Regions from separate parts of the Homo sapiens genome. Here regions 2, 3, 4, 5, 6 and 7 are each linked to region 1. The links are contacts of gene promoters, found by promoter capture Hi-C in blood cells and fetal thymus (Javierre and others, 2016). All regions are on one chromosome and are shown on one strand. Each heading gives the region's core, a stretch centred on a gene start or on the middle of the fragment in contact. The rest is flanking DNA. Distances are from core to core; before and after follow the strand shown. Region 1 holds the start of RNF152 (ring finger protein 152). Region 2 has its middle 9.1 kb from the start of LINC01544. Region 3 has its middle 50 kb from the start of LINC01544. Region 4 overlaps PIGN (phosphatidylinositol glycan anchor biosynthesis class N). Region 5 overlaps PIGN (phosphatidylinositol glycan anchor biosynthesis class N). Region 6 has its middle 70 kb from the start of LINC01544. Region 7 overlaps PIGN (phosphatidylinositol glycan anchor biosynthesis class N).

What was found. The method cuts DNA at HindIII sites, captures the fragments that hold promoters and counts their contacts. A CHiCAGO score of 5 or more calls a contact.
Region 2: a fragment that was not itself captured here is called in contact with the fragment with the promoter of RNF152 in region 1 in 1 of 17 cell types (M0 macrophages); the score reaches 5.1 in M0 macrophages.
Region 3: a fragment that was not itself captured here is called in contact with the fragment with the promoter of RNF152 in region 1 in 1 of 17 cell types (M2 macrophages); the score reaches 6.3 in M2 macrophages.
Region 4: a fragment that was not itself captured here is called in contact with the fragment with the promoter of RNF152 in region 1 in 1 of 17 cell types (M2 macrophages); the score reaches 5.8 in M2 macrophages.
Region 5: a fragment that was not itself captured here is called in contact with the fragment with the promoter of RNF152 in region 1 in 1 of 17 cell types (M2 macrophages); the score reaches 6.8 in M2 macrophages.
Region 6: a contact is called between a fragment that was not itself captured here and the fragment with the promoter of RNF152 in region 1, in 1 of 17 cell types (M2 macrophages). The highest score is 6.5, in M2 macrophages.
Region 7: a contact is called between a fragment that was not itself captured here and the fragment with the promoter of RNF152 in region 1, in 1 of 17 cell types (M2 macrophages). The highest score is 7.6, in M2 macrophages.

What each region holds. Positions count from the first base shown.
Region 1 is chr18:61,891,588-61,894,287 of GRCh38, forward strand. It overlaps RNF152 (ring finger protein 152), which reads right to left and starts at 1,420. Exons shown (of 2, transcript NM_173557.3): 1 at 1,208-1,420. RefSeq lists a silencer at 2,606-2,700. The HindIII fragment of the contact is 8,244 bases long and covers 1-2,700 here.
Region 2 is chr18:61,737,680-61,740,379 of GRCh38, forward strand. No RefSeq gene overlaps it. Among named protein-coding and RNA genes, the nearest start is that of LINC01544, 9.1 kb to the right of the region's middle. The HindIII fragment of the contact is 4,341 bases long and covers 1-2,700 here.
Region 3 is chr18:61,697,221-61,699,920 of GRCh38, forward strand. No RefSeq gene overlaps it. Among named protein-coding and RNA genes, the nearest start is that of LINC01544, 50 kb to the right of the region's middle. The HindIII fragment of the contact is 8,587 bases long and covers 1-2,700 here.
Region 4 is chr18:62,112,361-62,115,060 of GRCh38, forward strand. It overlaps PIGN (phosphatidylinositol glycan anchor biosynthesis class N), which reads right to left. Exons shown (of 31, transcript NM_176787.5): 15 at 2,201-2,279; 16 at 774-956. Among named protein-coding and RNA genes, the nearest start is that of PIGN, 73 kb to the right of the region's middle. RefSeq lists an enhancer at 2,277-2,446. The HindIII fragment of the contact is 4,101 bases long and covers 1-2,700 here.
Region 5 is chr18:62,073,551-62,076,250 of GRCh38, forward strand. It overlaps PIGN (phosphatidylinositol glycan anchor biosynthesis class N), which reads right to left. Exons shown (of 31, transcript NM_176787.5): 29 at 1,229-1,271. Among named protein-coding and RNA genes, the nearest start is that of PIGN, 110 kb to the right of the region's middle. The HindIII fragment of the contact is 1,522 bases long and covers 584-2,105 here.
Region 6 is chr18:61,677,285-61,679,984 of GRCh38, forward strand. No RefSeq gene overlaps it. Among named protein-coding and RNA genes, the nearest start is that of LINC01544, 70 kb to the right of the region's middle. The HindIII fragment of the contact is 7,786 bases long and covers 1-2,700 here.
Region 7 is chr18:62,095,812-62,098,511 of GRCh38, forward strand. PIGN (phosphatidylinositol glycan anchor biosynthesis class N) reads right to left here. Exons shown (of 31, transcript NM_176787.5): 23 at 37-139. Among named protein-coding and RNA genes, the nearest start is that of PIGN, 90 kb to the right of the region's middle. RefSeq lists an enhancer at 468-637. The HindIII fragment of the contact is 4,873 bases long and covers 1-2,700 here.

The sequences.
Region 1 (2,700 bases), core at 170-2,669:
TTACTCATCTGATCTTTGCAAAGCACTGGCCTTTGTTTCACCTGGGACTAGATAACTCAACTGCTTTTACTAGTGACTCCTGAATGCTTGTAGTAGAAGGATAAATGCTAGTGTCACCTATGTTTTTAAAGTCACCTTCCAAAACAAAACTACATTGGAGGTGAATAATAAATCTTTCAAGTTTTTAACTTCATTTTTCAAGGGATTTGGAGGAAAATGGTGAAGAGAGAATCTGTCACAGATACCAAGGTGTTACTGCAATGTAAAAGAGAGTAGACCAGGAGCCTTTGGCCCTCAGCAATCTGTCTTCCTACAAGAAAAATCGAAAGCCCATTTCCATAACCATTCTTATTCCCTGCTACTAGTGTAGGATGCGCAGGACTCTGCCCTCTAGCAGAAAATGCTAATGCCGGAGTGTCCTGCTAAGTCTGAAGGTTACGTTTTTTCATTGCACTCTTATCAAGATAACCCCAGATCTGGCTAGGCTGACATCAAAACAGAACTATCCTTGGAAAGAAAAGAACAGGCCAGAGTTTTTGGAAAAGCCCCAATAACCTAAAGATAAAATCCAGAATGAGAGTCTACTGGTTCATGGCTATCTAAATGGAAACTTCACTCAAGCTGTTTTCTCTGTTCTCTTTCTGCTGCCCCCAACAGCCCTCCCTTCCACCTCCCAGTACTCACTGCTAGCATGTCTCTCTTAATATTGCAAACACTATTACAATGAAGGAACAGAAGAAAGACAGTATTTCATACGAAGGTCACTGCATTTGACCGGTGCTCAATTAGAGCACTGGGCAAAAGTACAATCAGCCTTCCAATGATACCTTTTCAACAAAGGATACCCCACCTCTAGACTGAAGCCTAAATCTATTACTACAGATAAGAAAGCAGGCATCTATGGAAACCTAACATTCAGATACAACTGCCTGTGTATGAATTATATCAAAATTCCCATGAAAGGAAACCAGGTGGGATTTCTACAATCCCAAATTCACCCTGCACCTACCTCCAATGGCTTCTTCAAAGGGAAGGTATAAAGTCATTTGCAATTTATTTCTTTGAACCAGGAGTTTTAGCAGCCCCCACACCTTCTCACAGATAGGAACGATGTTGATGCAGAAACCACCCAAACAGCCCTGTGCCAGCACTGTCGGCCCAAATGACCCAGAGACACCCAGGCGCTACCCAGATCGTGGGGGGTTACCTGTATCTGTCACCGAGTCTCTTTCACCCCTTCTGCGTGATGACATCAAGTGGAAATGGTACACGTTTAGGAGGCAAGAGGCTGACAGGCAGGAAACACAATTGAGACTGAGCTTTCTTCAGCCTGCAGTGAAATACATGCAGGAAGGGTTAGATACGCGCCGCGGAGAAGGAAATCCAAGCGCCCTCCTGGGCAGACGGGGCTGGAGCGGGTGCACTAGGGAGGTGGAGCAAGGCAGATGAGGTGTGGAGGGCTGGCGGCCGAGAAGGGGGCGTCACGGCTCCTAATTGTCTCTACAGGATAAATAACCACCTCCCCCCTCCTCCGCAGTCTCCCCCGCCCACGAGTTCCCCTCTGGTGGCAGAGCGCCTACTAGCAACAGTAAGCCCTAGGAAAGAAAGAAATCGGAGCAGGTGGGGAATAACATCTTGGGGCAAAGACACACTGGCAAAATCTACCAGGTAACCCGGTCATATGGGAATGCGGGGCGCCTAGTCAGCCGCGCAGACAGGCACACAGCGCGGCAATCCCGAGCATCTTTCTTTCGTTTGCCCCTGTCCGCCACCTCATCAAGTCACCGCCACCTCATCAAGTCACCGTCACCTCATCAAGTCACCGTCACTCTGCTTTGGCGATTTCTCTACTCTCTCCAGACCCAGGCAGCGCTCCCCAAGCCATGCCCCGACCCCAGGCGGGATTGGGGACCGCCGCTTCCCGAGCAGCGCCCCACGAGTCCAGCTGGCTTTGTCCTGCCGCTGTCCTTCCAGGAGCAAGCGCCCCAGGCGCGTGTGTCTGCACAAAAGACCCCCAACATCTGGCCCTTCACAGCGCTCTCTAATCCCGGGAGGGGCCCTGGGGCAACTTCTAGGGCTGGAGAAGGCGCGAGACAAGGGGACCGGGAGAAGATGAGCCGGGGTGTGTGCGGGCCGGGGGCGCAACTGGGGCGGGCGCGCGCGCACGTGCACACCCAGGGGCGCGCGCGGCGCGGGCACGAGGAAAGCTCCCTCGGACCGGAGCTCCAGGGGGCATCCGAGGACTCGGCCGAGCAGCCGACAGCGCCGCTCCCCGCCGCGGCCGCCCGCCCAACTCCGCCAGCTCTCAGGAGACACGCAACTCCCGGGACCACCTCCCCCGTGCCCCGCCAGACCCCGCGCTCCCCTCCCCGGGACCCTGCGGCCCCGCCACCCCCTCCGCGGTCCAGAAGATCTCCCCAGTTACAGCAGGCGGCAGCTGCCCTTTCCCGCTTCCACGGCTTCGGCGCGGCCGCCGTAGGGGCGCAGACATCCCTGCGCACCCCTCTGTCCGCCCCCGATCCGGAGCCGGCAGAGCAGAGAAACAAACCGAAACTCACTGACCTTTCTCCGCGGCGGGCTCGGGTGCTCGCTACAGAGGCGGCGGCGGCGGCGACAGCATCGCCGGGTGGTCCCGGCGCGCCCGCTCCTTTCAGCCAGACTCGCGCCCCGGGCCGGCGGCCGCCGCTCCTCCGGCCGAGA
Region 2 (2,700 bases), core at 184-2,683, 150 kb before region 1:
CACCTGCTCTTCTGATTTTCTTTCTGAAACATCATTCTCTCTTTCTTTCCCAATTTCAGGAGAGAATCTAATATACTCATTCACACTGAGGTGTAAGGCTCTAAGAAGATGTACACTGCCTGCCCAGGGATATATCCAGTTCACCTGGAAGCTAAGCAAGAAGAATTAAAATACAGAAATGGGAATAAAGTTTGCAACCTCTCCAACCCTTTGTTCCAGGCTGCTTTTTACGCCTCAAAACTTACCAGATTTTGTCTGCACCTCCCAGACAACCTCAGAAATGTGTTTCCCAAAAATCTCTTTCCCTGGTCAGTTTCTCTGTCATGCACTACTTTCAGAAACCCAGACTATCCTCTGGCCCATCAGCCCTCATGCCCAGAGACCCATGCCAAGTTAAGTTGTTCATTGGGCACAGATATGTCTCCAAGGCACCTTCTAAATCTGTCAAGGCCAATTTAGGAACAGAAGGTTGAGGCCAGATGGAAAAGTTGGGAAAGCACCCATGGAGAACAGAGCTAGCCCAGGCCTGGAGGCACAAGATCACTAATCTGATGAGTGGCTCCAATCAAATGAGACCACATGGACATTGGCAAAGAGCATAAGGAAAGTTCTCTCTTCACTCAAGCCTGTAGCCTGTCCTAGAACAAAGGAGCAAAGGTTCTTTCAGCATAAACATTGCCGACTCTCTGGAGGAAAACAGGCTCTTTTTTATATTTACAAAATCAGAACCAGCAGAGGCCAGACCTAGGAATCTGTATTTTTAAAAGGCTCCCCAGGAGCAATGGAAACCACTGGTCTAAATTAAAAAGTGATGACAAATAAAAAAGCCAACATAGGGTGTTTTGTGTTCGCTCTCATTCTATGGTGTTGTGGACATCCATAGAGAATGTGCTATTTATCCTATTTATTTACTTGTTTTTCGAAACAGCAAAAGGATACTGAGATAGGAGACTTTGCTCAACAAGCCAGTGCTAATCACCATAAAGGGTCTGTTGTGTCACACTCTGATGAATCACCACATGTCAGCAGGGACACAGCCAACGGAAATATGTTCTATGGCTTTGGTTTCCTCTTTTCCCTTGATGCATGAAAAAATCCTTTTCCCCAAGCTAAGTTTAGGGCAAGAGGCTCTTTTTGTTTGTGAATGGAGGCAGTCTGAGGGTGAAACAGGATGCCCCAAACAGAAGGAAGGGCCCAAGGAAATCTGCCATCTGGAGAGTGAGCTGTAGGGGCACCTTGGATTCCTATGCAGAATTGTCCTTAGATTTAGGCAACAGCCTGGCGAGCCTGACTCTTGCTGAACAGAGAGGCTGTGCCTCTCTCATGTGAAGAGTGGATGTCATCCACACACGTGGGGGAAAGGACTCCTTCAGGGGCTCATTCCTCCTCCATCTGAGGGCGCTCCCACCAGTCTTTCACTATCTGCCTCCATCCACTGCTCCTCAGTACCTTGGCCTCAGCCCTCTTTGCTTCCTTCTCAGCCTCTCTATTTCTCCCAGTCACCCAGCCTTAGAATCTTTGTGGCCAGGCACAGTGGCTCATGTCTGTAATCCCAACACTTTGAGAGGCCGAGATGGGAAGATTGCTGGAGCCCAGGAGATCGATGGTGCAGTGGGCTATGATCATGCCACTTCACACCAGCCTGGGTGACAGAGCCAGGCTTGTCTCTAAAAATAATACTAGCAATAATGAAAACAAACAAACAAACAAACAAAAATAATCTTTTTCTCTATGAGACATAATGGAAAGAGAAACCGACTTGGGGTCTGAAAATCTGAGTCTGGATCCCAACACTGCCAGTTCTCCAGTTCTCGGCCGTGTGACTTTGAGCACATCCCTGACATGTTTATATAGCACTGCACCTCTGTTTTTTGTTTGTTTGTTTGTTTTGTTTGTTTGTTCGAGACGGAGTCTTGCACTGTCCCCCAGGCTGGAGTGCAGTAGTGCGACCTTGGCTCACTGCAAGCTCCACCTCCCGGGTTCACGCCATTCTCCTGCCTCAGCCTCCCGTGTAGCTGGGACCACAGGCGCCTGCCACCACGCCCGGCTAATTTTTTGTGTATTTTTAGTAGAGACGGGGTTTCACCGTGTTAGCCAGGATGGTCTTGATCTCCTGACCTTGTGATCCGCCCGCCTCAGCCTCCCAAAGTCCTGGGATTACAGGCATGAGCCACCGCGCCTGGCCACACCTCTGTTTCTAATAACTGCCCGATCCACACCTCTGCACTGTTGTGAGAATCAAATAAACTATGTGAAATACTTTGTATGCTTATTTATCTCTTCACACATACACACGTATGTCTTGTTTTTGACATACCGTCTTGGTTGCTGCCATATTGAATCAGCCCCCAAATCCTGCTGATTGTGGTCTTGTTTGTATCCCTCGCATACATTCTTGCTTTTCCATATTCATTGCTATCACTGCCCTCCAAATATATTCCTTCAAGTTGACCTTCACTGTAGGTCATTCAAGATTACAGTATTAGGTTCTTAGCCTTCTGGCAGCCATCAGTGGTTAGAGGGGTGAAGGCCACAGTCTCCTCCCCACCACCTCTCAGCCAGGTGGTCTGCTGTAATGAGATCAAGACTCAGACCAAACTCTGACACATAGAGAGACCTATCAGCCAGCAGCAACGAAAACATCAGACCACCTGGTTTGCAAGCTCAGCAAACATAGGACCACCTGGTTTATCCTAGCTC
Region 3 (2,700 bases), core at 46-2,545, 190 kb before region 1:
CTGTGCAGAATGAGGAGAAGCTATGTATTGTTGTAAATTGACTCAGAATCTCTAAATAGGCTCAGAATCTCTAACCTCCTCCTCATCAAGACAAAGACCTTAAACACTGACATTTTCCCACATTTCCCCTATTTCCCATCTTCCAGATGTTTATCTAGTATATTATGCACAAAAGTTTGAAAATACAGGGAAAATATAGCTTGATTTTGGACACGTTTCAATGATTTCTTTGTTCACCATTGTTTTTCTGTTCCACACCTTTTGGATTCATTTTCTCCTGCAGGAAATACGTAAAGTTTAGCAGTTCTTTCAGGAAGGCACTCTGATAGCAAACCCTCCTAGCCCTGGTGTCTGGCTATGTCTGTTTCACTCTCACTCCTGAACAATACTTGGGGAAGGAATTATTCTAGCATTTACCCTCAGTGCTGAAGAGGCAGCTGCCAATCTGCTGGCCATTCTTTTGTGAGGGACAAGTCTTTTCTTACTGCTTGCTTGTAAGACTTCCCCTTTTGTTCTCCATGTTTGGCCATTTCACTTGACTTGTTCCCCACTTCATTCAGTCTTGGCTTAAATGCCACCTCTTCAGAAAGACTTTCCTTGCCCATTTGATCTAAAATACCTCCTTTTACTCTAGTTTATTTTTCCTTCATAATACTTACCTATACATGAATTTAAAGTTATATATATATAAGTATATATATAAAAAACACATATATTATATTCTAGATGCATATTATATATGTGTGTGTGTTCCCCCACTGAATACACAGTACCTAGAACAGGACCTGGCAATAAATCACTAAATCAATAGCTCCTGATAAATGAACAATTATACATAGATGTGAGGTTTCATGGTGGTTGTTGAGTTCATCCTGCTCAGCATTTGGTGCTGAACTCCTTCCATCTTAACATCCTTGGTCTAAAACATTGGCAATTTCCTATATTAAGTGGTTTAGGACTCTGTAATAGTCATGGATCTCCAGAGAACAGAACCAACAGGAGATATATAGAGAGAGAAAGAGAGATTTTAAGGAACGTGTGATTGTGGAGGGTTGGTAAACCCAAAATCTGTGGGGTAAGCCAGCAGTTTGGAGACCTAGGGATGAATTGTAGTTCGAGTCCAAAAACCATCTATAGGCAGAACTTATATAATAGAAGCATAATCTGCTATACTCAAAGTCTACTGATTTGTTTTTTAGAGATAGAGTTTCATTCTGTTGCCCAGGTTGAAGTGCAGTGGCAAAATCATACCTCACTGTAACCTTGAATTCCTGGACTCTAGTGATCTTCCCACCACAGCCTCCTAGCTAGCTGGGACTACAAGCATATGTCACCATGCCCAGGCAATTTTTAAAATTTTTTGTGGAGATGCGCTCTTGCTATGTTGCCCAAGATGGTCTTGAACTCCTGTGCTCAAGCAGTTCTCCCACTTCAGCCTCCCAAGTAGATAGGAGTAGTGAGGATTACAAGTGCATCCCACAACACCTGATTAATTATTTTATTTTTTGTAGAAACAACGTCTTGCTGTATTGCACAGGCTGGTCTCCAACTCCTGGCTTCAAGCGATCCTCCTGCCTTGGCCAGGATTATAGGCATGAGCCACCACACCTGGCCTACTGCTGATTTAAATGTTAATCTCATCTAAAAAAATGCCTTCACAGAAATATCTAGAATAACATTTGAACAATATGTGGATATCATGACCTAGCCACATTGACACATAAAATTAACCTTCACAGACTCTCACCCTAGATGGGAAGTGCTCCATTTGTGCCACCCAATCTCACTCCTGTTTTGCTTGGTGGCCTCTGTTTCCTCCCAGAGCTGCTTACTTCCAGCTGCCACCCACCTCTGGGCTCTCTAGTGGAGTTATTTCACTCTGGGGGCTGTGGCTGCACAGAGATTCCAGTGTCCCACCATGGGCCCTGCAGACCTTCCCAGGCAGTGCTGAAGACCAGGGCCCACCACCCCTTGTCTGGCCATGAGTCCCTTGGGTCATGTGACTTCAACCCCCTCCCTCATCAATGTGAGTTTCCTCTGCACTCAGGTTCACAGAGATTTTCCTCTTGGCATTTTGGGCATTCTTAAACTGTTTTGGAATGGGTTGCATATATTTAAATTTTTTAAAGCAATATTTCACCTTACGCCAGTGGAATGGAAGGTAGGGGAGAGTGTACATGCTCCCTCTGGCACCTTGATTGGAAGTTGGTAGGAATTAAATGGGTCTGGGAGAGATGGCAAGGCATCCTGGGTGCAAGAGAGCAGAGAACAGATGGGAAGAGTGTGCTCCATGGTGAGGAAAGCCAAGAGCCCTTCTTGAGCATTCTCATACTGGAGCACCTGTTACGCGCTGGGGGCTGTGCAGGTGCTGGGGGCTGGGCAGGTGCTGGAGACAGTGATTACAAGACATGCGCATTCCTGTTCTCAGCAAGCCCAGCACGGAGACTGGAGAGAGCATGCTGGGCACAGTGGCAATCAGGGTTTGATAAGGAAGGGTCAGATTTTATTTTATTTTATTTATTTTTTCAGATTTTTTGCAAATGCCTTTAATATGAATATTCTCTTTGACAAGTTGCAACAAAGTTGAGAAAATGCAGTAGCTAGATCAAAGAGTCCCAAGACTTTGGTGCCATACAATAATGCCTTTATAATCATAACCACCTTTGTTTTTCCTCAGAAGTTTCTAATCCAGTTTAAGAA
Region 4 (2,700 bases), core at 110-2,609, 220 kb after region 1:
TTACTTTTTAGAGAACTTGAACATGGTAATAATCATTAAAGAGAATGAAGCAAAGGAAATGAAAGTGGCATAGTGCCCCTGGTAAATGATAGTTAGAAATATATTTTAAAAGAGTAAAGTGTTTTAATGTAGTAAAACCATATACATACTGTTATATTGTCTCAGCAATATGAAGTATCATTAAAGAGATTTTTTTAATTTTTATTTTTTCACTGAAAGCATAGTAAAGTAGGAACAAATTCTTAAAATAAGAATACTTGGAGAGGTCTAGAAATCTGCATTTTGAGAAACTTCAAAAAGTTAAAAGAAGGTAAGTAATTAAAAAATGTATACATCATTTAAGAAGAAACATTATGAGCAAATAATTTTATTGTTCTCTAGCTCCCAAACTTTTAATATCAAATAAAATTAAACATATTGTTTTGAAGTAGTTTTCTGACCAGTTGTACTAGAAAGATATGGAATACTTATAAAATGCTAGTTATAAAATAAAACAGAAGGTCGACACCATTGATAACATAGGAGCACTTAAATTACTTACACCTCTATCTTTATAGCTTTCTTAAGTTATAGGATCATTATTATCAATATATCTTTTTCTCAACTGAAGAAACAGAGATAACTGAGGAAAAATCCAATACAATAAAAGCAAATGAAAGATAAACAAGAGTTAGCTTAGAACAATGACTTGCACATCCTATAAACTCATTACACTGGATTCAGTACTAGTGATTTTATACCATCATCTGAATCCTCACATTTTCTAAACGTACCTTCACTTCTTTACTAACACCTTTTATAAGGTTGGAATGAGACTTGATGATCAACAAAGAGGCATAAGATATCCATCCCACAAAACCAATAACAACATTGACGCCCAAAAAGAATCTGTCATATGTGTGATAATAGGACAATCCTTTCAATGCAAGATGAATTAGCTCCTTGCAAAGGGAGACCTATGGAGAAAAAACATATATAACTTGCTAACAGAAATAATAAGAAAACCTACATTTTAAAGAAAGGAAAATTTTAAATTCCTAACAGCCAAACTGTTGTATTAAAATTAGTGAATAACTGTAGATGATGGATTAAGAACAGATTTTAATTGTTCCAGGATCTTCTTTTAAAGTATGAGAAAAATTTGGAATAAAATGAACTTTTTAATCTTAATAAGAAAGGGCATTTTAAATGTAAACTATTTGTGTTGTATATGTGTGTTTGTGGAAATGATATTCAGACAACTCATAAAAGAAATGAAGGCTCTCTAATATAGGTCCCAAATAATGATAATGGCCATATTTATATTTTTTCTCATATGAGATTACTCAAATCAGTTATAAAACATCATTAAGTAGCTTAATATTTTACAGGAGAAGAATAGCTTATCATTTTAAAATCATCAAAAAAAGCATTAGAAATGCACGGATTGGCAATTATTTAGGCAATTTTAGAAATGAAAACAGAATTCTTTTCTACTTTAAAATTAAATGACCATTTAACAAAGAAAAATTAATGAAAAACAGTGAGATAGGAGTTTGGAAGAGTCAAAATTTCAACATGAATCATTAGACTTTTAATAATGTATAGATAATTCCAAGTGGCAAACATATAGTATTCTAAAATATTATACATTAAGAAGGGTGACACAAACTTGGCATCTATTTTCTCATTTTAAAAAATGGTAATAGTTTATTTCTAATGCTAACCTAAAAAAATGTGGGCCGGGTGCGGTGGCTCATGCCTGTAATCCCAGCACTTTGGGAAGCCAAGGCGGGTGGATCACCTGATGTCAGAAGTTCAAGACCAGCCTGGCCAACATGGCAAAACCCCATCTCTACTAAAAATACAAAAACTAGCTGGGTGTTGTGGCGCATGCCTGTAATCCCAGCTACTCAGGAGGCTGAGGCAGGAGGATTGCTTGAACCTGGGAGGCGGAGGTTGCAGTGAGCTGAGATTGTGCCACTGCACTCCAGCCTGGGCAACAGCGACACTCTGTCTCAAAAAAAAAAAAAAAAATTTACCCATAATATTAGTTGAAATAAGAGAGATCTGTCCACTGCTAAAGCAGCTACTCAGGAAATGCAATCCTTCCTTGAGGGCTCAAGAAAGCTCCCTGGCCTGCCTACTTTGCTCTATTTTTCTCCTCTCCATCCCCAAAATGATAATCAGCTATTTATGTCTATAAGGCCGGTATACTTACCACTTCATCAAACTTTCTGTGTTTTATATAAGATCTTGCTTTTCTTAAAATGTTGAACTGTTTGGAATCAGAAAGCAGTCTATATATAAAAAAAAGAATAGGTTTAAAGGGTTTCCTCATTCCAAGTATATGTTTCTTTTTTCCCCTTAATTAAAAAACAAAGATAGTGAAAATTACAAAACAGCAAACAAAACAAAAATCAAAGAAAAAAACCTGAATTGCTGTTTGTTCTCTGAAGTCTTCCAAGAAATAGCTTATAGTTAAATTTGGTTTTCTTGACTCGAAGTTTCAAATGCCAAACTACACTTATGAAAGTCATATAATCCATCATTCTGAAGAAATGTAATACTCTGGCTAACAAAGAAATTCTGATTAAATTGAAGTAATTAGCAGAACACCAAACGTATGGCATGAGCTCTGCCACTCAGTTGTCCTGTGCTCATGGCAGACTTCACGTGATTGAGGACAGATCCATCAATGTTCTTTTTATCCCTGAGCCA
Region 5 (2,700 bases), core at 95-2,594, 180 kb after region 1:
AATTAATCAGAATTTCAATCCTCTTCTATTAATATGTCTGTTTGTCACTTTGCACAAAACTGAAAGCTGATTTGCTCTCACATTATGTGTGGTCAGTTTCAGAAATACAATGAATAATGGTTCACCACCACACAAAAGTACTCTCATCTAAACCGAGTGACTAGGAATCTGATTTGGGAAGCTACCCTTATTAGTATTCCTAGTTACTTCTGGCATGGGATGTTATATGGTGACAAATTAACCTTACCCAAAAAGACCGCTGGTGTTCATTCTCAGCTACTGGGAGGCAATTTCTGGGCCCTTGGAATGTCATGGAATGTCATGCCTCATAGAAGGTTCTGCCTGAGGGCTTGGCCACTGGACAGTCTAATAATGTGATATATGATGAGGGCTTTGGGCCATATTACCAGCTGTATCCCCAGAAGGGATTAAAGGTCAGCCAGGTAGGCAGTATGTGATCAAGCCCCACTAAAAAGTCTGGACAACAAAGCTTAGGTAAGCCTGGTTGGCAATACTCCATGTGTACTGTCACACATCAATAGTGGGAGGGTAATGCTGTCCTGATTCCACAGGGAGAAACAGAAGCTTGGCATTTGGTGTCCTGGACTCTGCCCTATGCACTGGAATAAACTGTAACTGAATATAACAGCATTCAGTGATTTCAGTGAATTCTAGTGAATTACTAAAGCTGAGGGTGGTCTTGGGAACTCCCCAAAGTTGTAGACATAAAATAGGTTCCTCTTTTTGTTAATGAGAGAGGCCTACCTACATACATCAGAACTCATTTATTGCAGCTACGTCTTGATTAACATCTTCCCAACAGAAAAGCTGTATTTCCTGTTTCCTTCCTTCCTTCCCTCCCTCTTTTCCTTTCATTTTTAATCTGAGAGAAGGGTTAAAAATCAACATTTCAGTAGAAAAATGATGTATTATCTAAATTTAAAGTTAGCTTTTTCTGCTAATTTTCTTTGGAAGGTTCATTTCAGATACAAAGCAACATGGAAGACGAGGTATGACAAATTCAAGTAGTAAGACTTTTGACACCTGAAGAAGAGCACACATCCTGCATAACTAATATAAAAGAACATAATTTATTGTGTAAATTATGCCAGCACTTACAACTCAACATCTAAAGATTTCACGTACCAAAATGCATTCATATTTCTCTTTATTAAATTAACCCAGGACTCTTAATCTAATTTATATGGACTACCCAGTAATGCCTTACCAAAGCCATAATGTCTGATATGACGAGAACAATGAGAAAAAGGCTGGAAAAAAAAAGAAGGAAAAATTACATCTAATACAACAGGTGCATTTTTCAAGCTCATTAAAATCCAAGTGAGACTAGGCAAATAACCTAGTATTGTTGGTATTTTTGCTTCTGAAAATACAACTTTCAAAGGTTCTTTTCATATTATCATGGGTGACCATACCATAGAGATGAGCTGGACTGTAAAATGTGTTATTAAGTGCTCTGAATATTTATTTCAGTAAAATGAAAGGGACATACATTATGATTTTCAAAACTAAACTTTTGAGGTAATTGTTAACTAATATGCAATTTCAAGAAATAATACAGAGGGATCCTCTGTACCCTTTACCCAGTTTCCCCCAGTGGGAAGATCTTGTAAAACCATAGTATAATATCCCAAGCAGGACAATGACACTGATACTGTCAAGGTAAAGAGTGTTCCCATCAGCACAAAGATCTCTCATGATGCCATTTTATAGCCACATCTGTCCTCCCCTCACCATCCCTCTGCCTAATCCCTCACCCCTGAGAGCCACTAATCTGTCCCCCATTTCTATAATTTTGTCATTTTAAGAGTGTTTTATGAGTAGAATCACATACATAACAAGTTGAACAATTTATATAACACTTTGTTACCTTTTGTAACCTTCTGGGATTGGCTTTTCTCACTTAGCATAATTTTCTCAAGAATCATCCAAGGTGCTGTATCAATGGGTCATTTACTTTTATGGCTGAATAGTACTCCATCATATGGATATACAATGGTTTACTTAACCATTCAAGCACCAAAGGACATCAAGGGTTGTTTCTACTTGTGGCTATTGTTCCAGTTTGTGGCTCTTACAAATAAAGCTTTTATAAACATTTGTGTCTAATTTTTTGTGTAAACCTTTCATTTCTCTAGGAAAATACATCAAGAGTGCAATTGCTAGGTCATACAACAGTAGCATGTTTAGTTTCATAAGAAACTGTAAAACTCTTTTCAGAGTGGTTGTACCATGTTACATTTCCACTAGCAATGCATGAGAGCAATTTCCTTACATCCTCAACAGCATTTGGTGATGCCACTATTTGTTTTTAACTATTCTGATAAACTGTTCTGGTAAGTGTGTAATGATATTTCATTGTTGATTTTTTTTTTCTTTTTTGAGATGGAGTCTCGCTCCGTCGCCCAGGCTGGAGTGCAGTGGTACAATCTTGGCTCACTGCAACCTCCGCCTCCTGGGTTCAAGCGATTCTCCTGCCTCAGTCTCCCAAGTAGCTGGGACTACAGGCACCCGCCACAACGCCCGGATAATTTTTGTATTTTTAGTAGAGACGGGGTTACACCATGTTGGTCAGGCTAGTCTTGTACTCCTGACCTCGTATCCGCCCGCCTCGGCCTCCCAAAGTGCTGGGATTACAGGCATGAGCCACCACGCCCAACCCATTGTGGTTTTACATGC
Region 6 (2,700 bases), core at 161-2,660, 210 kb before region 1:
CCAAAGTTAATTTGGCCTATGCCCAGGAATGAACCAGGACAGCTTGGAGGTTAGAAGCAAGATGGAGTCAGTTAAGTCAGATATCCTTCACTGTAATAATTGCCTCATTTATAATTTTTGCGAAACCAGTTTCACAAAGTTTGTATTATCAAAGAATGAAGTGTTTAAAAGAAACTCTATTGCTGCTGAGGTATCAATTAGAATCACATGACTTAAGACTTTTTACAAAGGAGAAAAGCAATCCCTATGACTTGTCTCCTGTGGATTATGTGCGTGTCTTCATATCAGTGAAGAAAGGATAGGCTTTCACTACTGGAGGTTTATTCCTGACATACAACACATGTTCACTGCAAGTCAGCAAGTTAGCTAAGGACTCGTGTCTCCTCACTAAGACCCAGGCTGCTGGAAGAGCTACAACCTTGAACTTTGCCGGGTAGAAGGAAAGAGCTTTGGAGTATCTCACATTAGCAGTTAAATGCTCTGGCCTGGAAGTGATACATGTCACTTTTGTTCATGGCTCAACGACCAGATTGGTTGAATGAACCACAGGGAGCCAGAAAGTACAATCCTAACATATACCTCCTCTGGCAAAGGGAAAACATTCATTCCCTCACTGCCTTAAGCCCAGCACAATCTGAGAACACTCATTCCATTTTATGAAGGAACATGGACACTGTGGGAACCATGGAGCTACAGAGAAGTTTAAATTTTTCTGAAGGCTTGATAATTTAAGTCTATATAATAAACTGCTAATACAAGATTAACAGGAAGAAAAGGCATAAAAATTTTATTACATGCACACATGTGCATGTGAGTCATACATAAAAATGAAAAACTCAAAGAAATGACCAGGTGGTTAACACTTCTACATCATCTTGAAAGAATGGGGGTTCAGTCAATGACCAAAAAAGAGAGTATGGTGGTAAATCAAGTTATGGTGACAAGACACGTTATGGGAGGGAAAGAAGAGGAGGCTTGGCTAGCAAAGGTGGTCTTGTTATGTAGATGAAACCTTACAGGTAGCAGCCCTCAGAGAAGAGATGGAAAATGTTTCTTTCAGACCTTTCAAGGCATCAGATTCTTACTCTTTCCTAGATCTGGACAAGCGAGAGTCTCAGAAAAAGCCTGGCTGCATCAATGCAGATTTTCTCTACAAATACAAATCTCCCTCACAATAGACAGCTTTGCAGGGCTAGTTCTGTTTGTGGGCCCTCTCAACAGCCATCTCAAAATACATCAAAGAAGTATATTTTAGGGTGAAATATTTTGATTTCCTTCAGAACACAAAGTTATGCCTACAGGCCAGCCTTACCTTACTTTAGTCTGATTGGCCAAGCCATTGCATATCCATAATCAGGCAGTTTTCAAAACCCAAAGGCACAACAAATAAGCAGCCTTCCTTGATAAACGTTGTACCTCAGATTAGAAAGAGTATGGAGTAATTATAACATATTGTTTCAGCACTGGGCATATTGAATGTTAAATATATGACCTAAAAGAAAGGAAGTCAACATACTGAAGAGATATCTTTACTACCAGGTTTATTGCAGCACTTTTCACAATAGGCAAGATTTGAAATCAACCTAAGTGTCCATCAGTAGATAAATGAATAAAGAAAATGTGGTACATATATGCAATGGAGCACTATTCAGCCATAAAAAAGAATGAGATCCTGTCATTTGCAACAACATAAATGGAACTGAAGGACCATTATGTTAAGTGAACTAAGCCAGGCACAAAAAGACAAATTTTGCATGTTCTCACTCATTTGTGTGAGCTAAAAATTAACATAACTGAACTCACAGAGATAGACAGTAGAACAGTCACTACCAGAGGCTAAGAAGGATAGTGGGGATGGTTAAGGGGTATAAAAATATAGTTAGATAGAATGAGTAAGATCTGGTATGTAATAGCACAACAGGGTGGCTACAGTCAACAATAATCTATTACACATTTAAAAATAACTAAAAGTTTTATTGGAATGTTTATAACACAAAGAAATGATAAATGCTTGAGGTGATGGATACTCCATTTAAGCTGATGTAATTATTACATACTGTATGCTTCAGAATATCTCATGTACCCCATAAATATATGCACCTACTATGTATGCATAAAATAATTTTAAAATTAAAAAAAACAGTTACATGTACGTATGTCCAGCCTAACTTATAGAAAGTAAACCCAAAAGCTAGGGGATGCTTGCTGAAGCCAATTCTGCTATGGCTAAATTCACCCAACGAATGCCAACCTCCTAAGATTTCTTCCTGAATGATTCTTGGGAATGCAGTGCAATACATCCTACAATTGGATCGTGAACCCCTCATTAGATGACAAATTACATAAAGTGGATCATGTCTTTGTATCCCTGTGCATGGTCCATGAAAGAAATTCAATAAATATTTTTTGGTGACATTGTATCCATTAAGCAGGATTTTGAAGGTCCACAGTTGGGATTTTGAAGAGATTTCTCCCAGAGGTTGAAGGGTTAAGGGAATTGACAATGCTGATCCACCCAGAGACTAACAGTAGGAAGCTCATTATATCCAACAGTAAAGGGAACTGCATTACCTGAGCCTGGTAAGCAATGCAGCCAAGGGAGATGAGTGGCCAGCATTGCATCAAGGGTTCTCTCCCATCCTCCTTCTGTTGCTCGTACTTTCCATTGGCTGAACCCAACCAGGCTGAACCCAACAATGA
Region 7 (2,700 bases), core at 1-2,500, 200 kb after region 1:
TGCTGCTATAAAATTAAATTGTTAAAAAGTTTATACCCTGTGCTTAGAAGTAGGTAGGTTGACATCAATGAAAGAAGTATGCTGAACAATCGCTGAAAGAGAACTGGAGAACTCAGTAGTGGCACAACCAAGGAAGAGGCTGCAATGAAACAGAACAGGTCATCTGTCAGTATAAGAGACACAAAAAAAATGTTAGCGTAGGGCCGGGCGTGGTGGCTCACACCTGTAATCTCAGCACTTTGGGAGGCCGAGGTGGGCAGATCACCTGAGGTCAGGAGTTCGAGACCAGCCTTGCCAACATGATAAAACCCCGTCTCTACTAAAAATACAAAAATTAGCTGGGTGTGGTGGCAGGCGCCTGTAATCCCAGCTACTCAGGAGGCTGAGGTAGGAGAATCGCTTGAACCCGGGAGGCAGAGGTTGCAGTGAGCCGAGATTGCACCACTGCACTCCAGCCTGGGTGACAAGAGTGAAACTCCATCTTAAAAAAAAAAGTTACTGTAGAAGCTCTGAATAATCTAGTATCATTTATGGCATTTATTGTTTTGTGACCTTGAACATGAGGCTACATTTCCCCTAATCACAGTCAAGCCTCACATTTTTAATTAACATTACATTTCATTTTTTTAACTACGCCCATATTTTCTCAATTTATATTCAGCCCAGATAACTATAATAATATTAACTCAAAAATGAATTATTTTCTTTTTTTTTTTTTTTTTTTTTTTTTTTATTATACTCTAAGTTTTAGGGTACATGTGCACATTGTGCAGGTTAGTTACATATGTATACATGTGCCATGCTGGTGCGCTGCACCCACTAATGTGTCATCTAGCATTAGGTATATCTCCCAATGCTATCCCTTCCCCCTCCCCCGACCCCACCACAGTCCCCAGAGTGTGATATTCCCCTTCCTGTGTCCATGTGATCTCATTGTTCAATTCCCACCTATGAGTGAGAATATGCGGTGTTTGGTTTTTTGTTCTTGCGATAGTTTACTGAGAATGATGGTTTCCAATTTCATCCATGTCCCTACAAAGGATATGAACTCATCATATTTTATGGCTGCATAGTATTCCATGGTGTATATGTGCCACATTTTCTTAATCCAGTCTATCATTGTTGGACATTTGGGTTGGTTCCAAGTCTTTGCTATTGTGAATAGTGCCGCAATAAACATACGTGTGCATGTGTCTTTATAGCAGCATGTTCATGTCCAAAACACCAAAAGCAATGGCAACAAAAGACAAAATTGACAAATGGGATCTAATTAAACTAAAGAGCTTCTGCACAGCAAAAGAAACTACCATCAGAGTGAACAGGCAACCTACAACATGGGAGAAAATTTTCGCAACCTACTCATCTGACAAAGGGCTAATATCCAGAATCTACAATGAACTCAAACAAATTTACAAGAAAAAAACAAACAACCCCATCAAAAAGTGGGCGAAGGACATGAACAGACACTTCTCAAAAGAAGACATTTATGCAGCCAAAAAACACATGAAGAAATGCTCATCATCACTGGCCATCAGAGAAATGCAAATCAAAACCACTATGAGATATCATCTCACACCAGTTAGAATGGCAATCATTAAAAAGTCAGGAAACAACAGGTGCTGGAGAGGATGCGGAGAAATAGGAACACTTTTACACTGTTGGTGGGACTGTAAACTAGTTCAACTATTGTGGAAGTCAGTGTGGCGATTCCTCAGGGATCTAGAACTAGAAATACCATTTGACCCAGCCATCCCATTACTGGGTATATACCCAAAAATGAATTATTTTCTAATGAAATAAAAGTATTACTCAAGATTTAGCACTCTTTGCTTAATTAGGCATTTATATCTTAGTTCAAAGACAACTTACTCCTCAGAAACTGATTTTTTCCTAACCCATTCCTTCTCCAAGTTTTCCCACCGTAAAGTATGCACTGACAGTTGCAGTATGCCCCTTGGAAAAGAGAAACAGGAATGACTTCACCATGCATGAGAGATGTATCGACTCTCCCCCGGGATAATAAAAGCAACTACCCAAGTGGAGGAAGGGCAGATGAAGTGGGTGGGGTGGCAAAACATAAACTCCTCCATCTCTATTCTGGGAAGGAAATGTGCATAACTTTCTAATCCCCCTAGTGCTCTAGAGGTTGAAGATAGACAAGTTGGGATGAAATCCCGGCTGAATCACTTACTAACTGTTTAAACTATAGGGCAAGTTCATTAACTGATCCAAGCAGAAATTTACCCACCTGTCAAATAGAGATAACATTAAAAAGTTGTGAGGATTAAATACAATTTCACCTATACAATGTTCCCTGAGCATAGTGCCTAGCACATAGTGCTTAGTAACTGTTAACTGTGGTTATTATTATTAGTCAACATCTTCTAAATTAAGTTACATGTAATGTCAATTTCACCTAAAGTCAAGTCACTGCAAGATTTAAGACTATGAAGTTACATTTTTTAATACCCTTAGATGAGTAGCTTCTGACTTTTTTTCCAGATGTGTAGCTCCAATCATAATAAACTGATACATATTTTAACTGGAAGGAATAACATTTCAATATGTCTGATTTTAAAAGTCAGTTAATCTGTTGGACATACGGTGGTTGTTAAGAAATAAAAAAATAAAAAGCAAATAATAAAAGTCAGTTCAAATGAGACCTCTTCTGTAAAACTGTACACATTTTCTGTCCTTGTT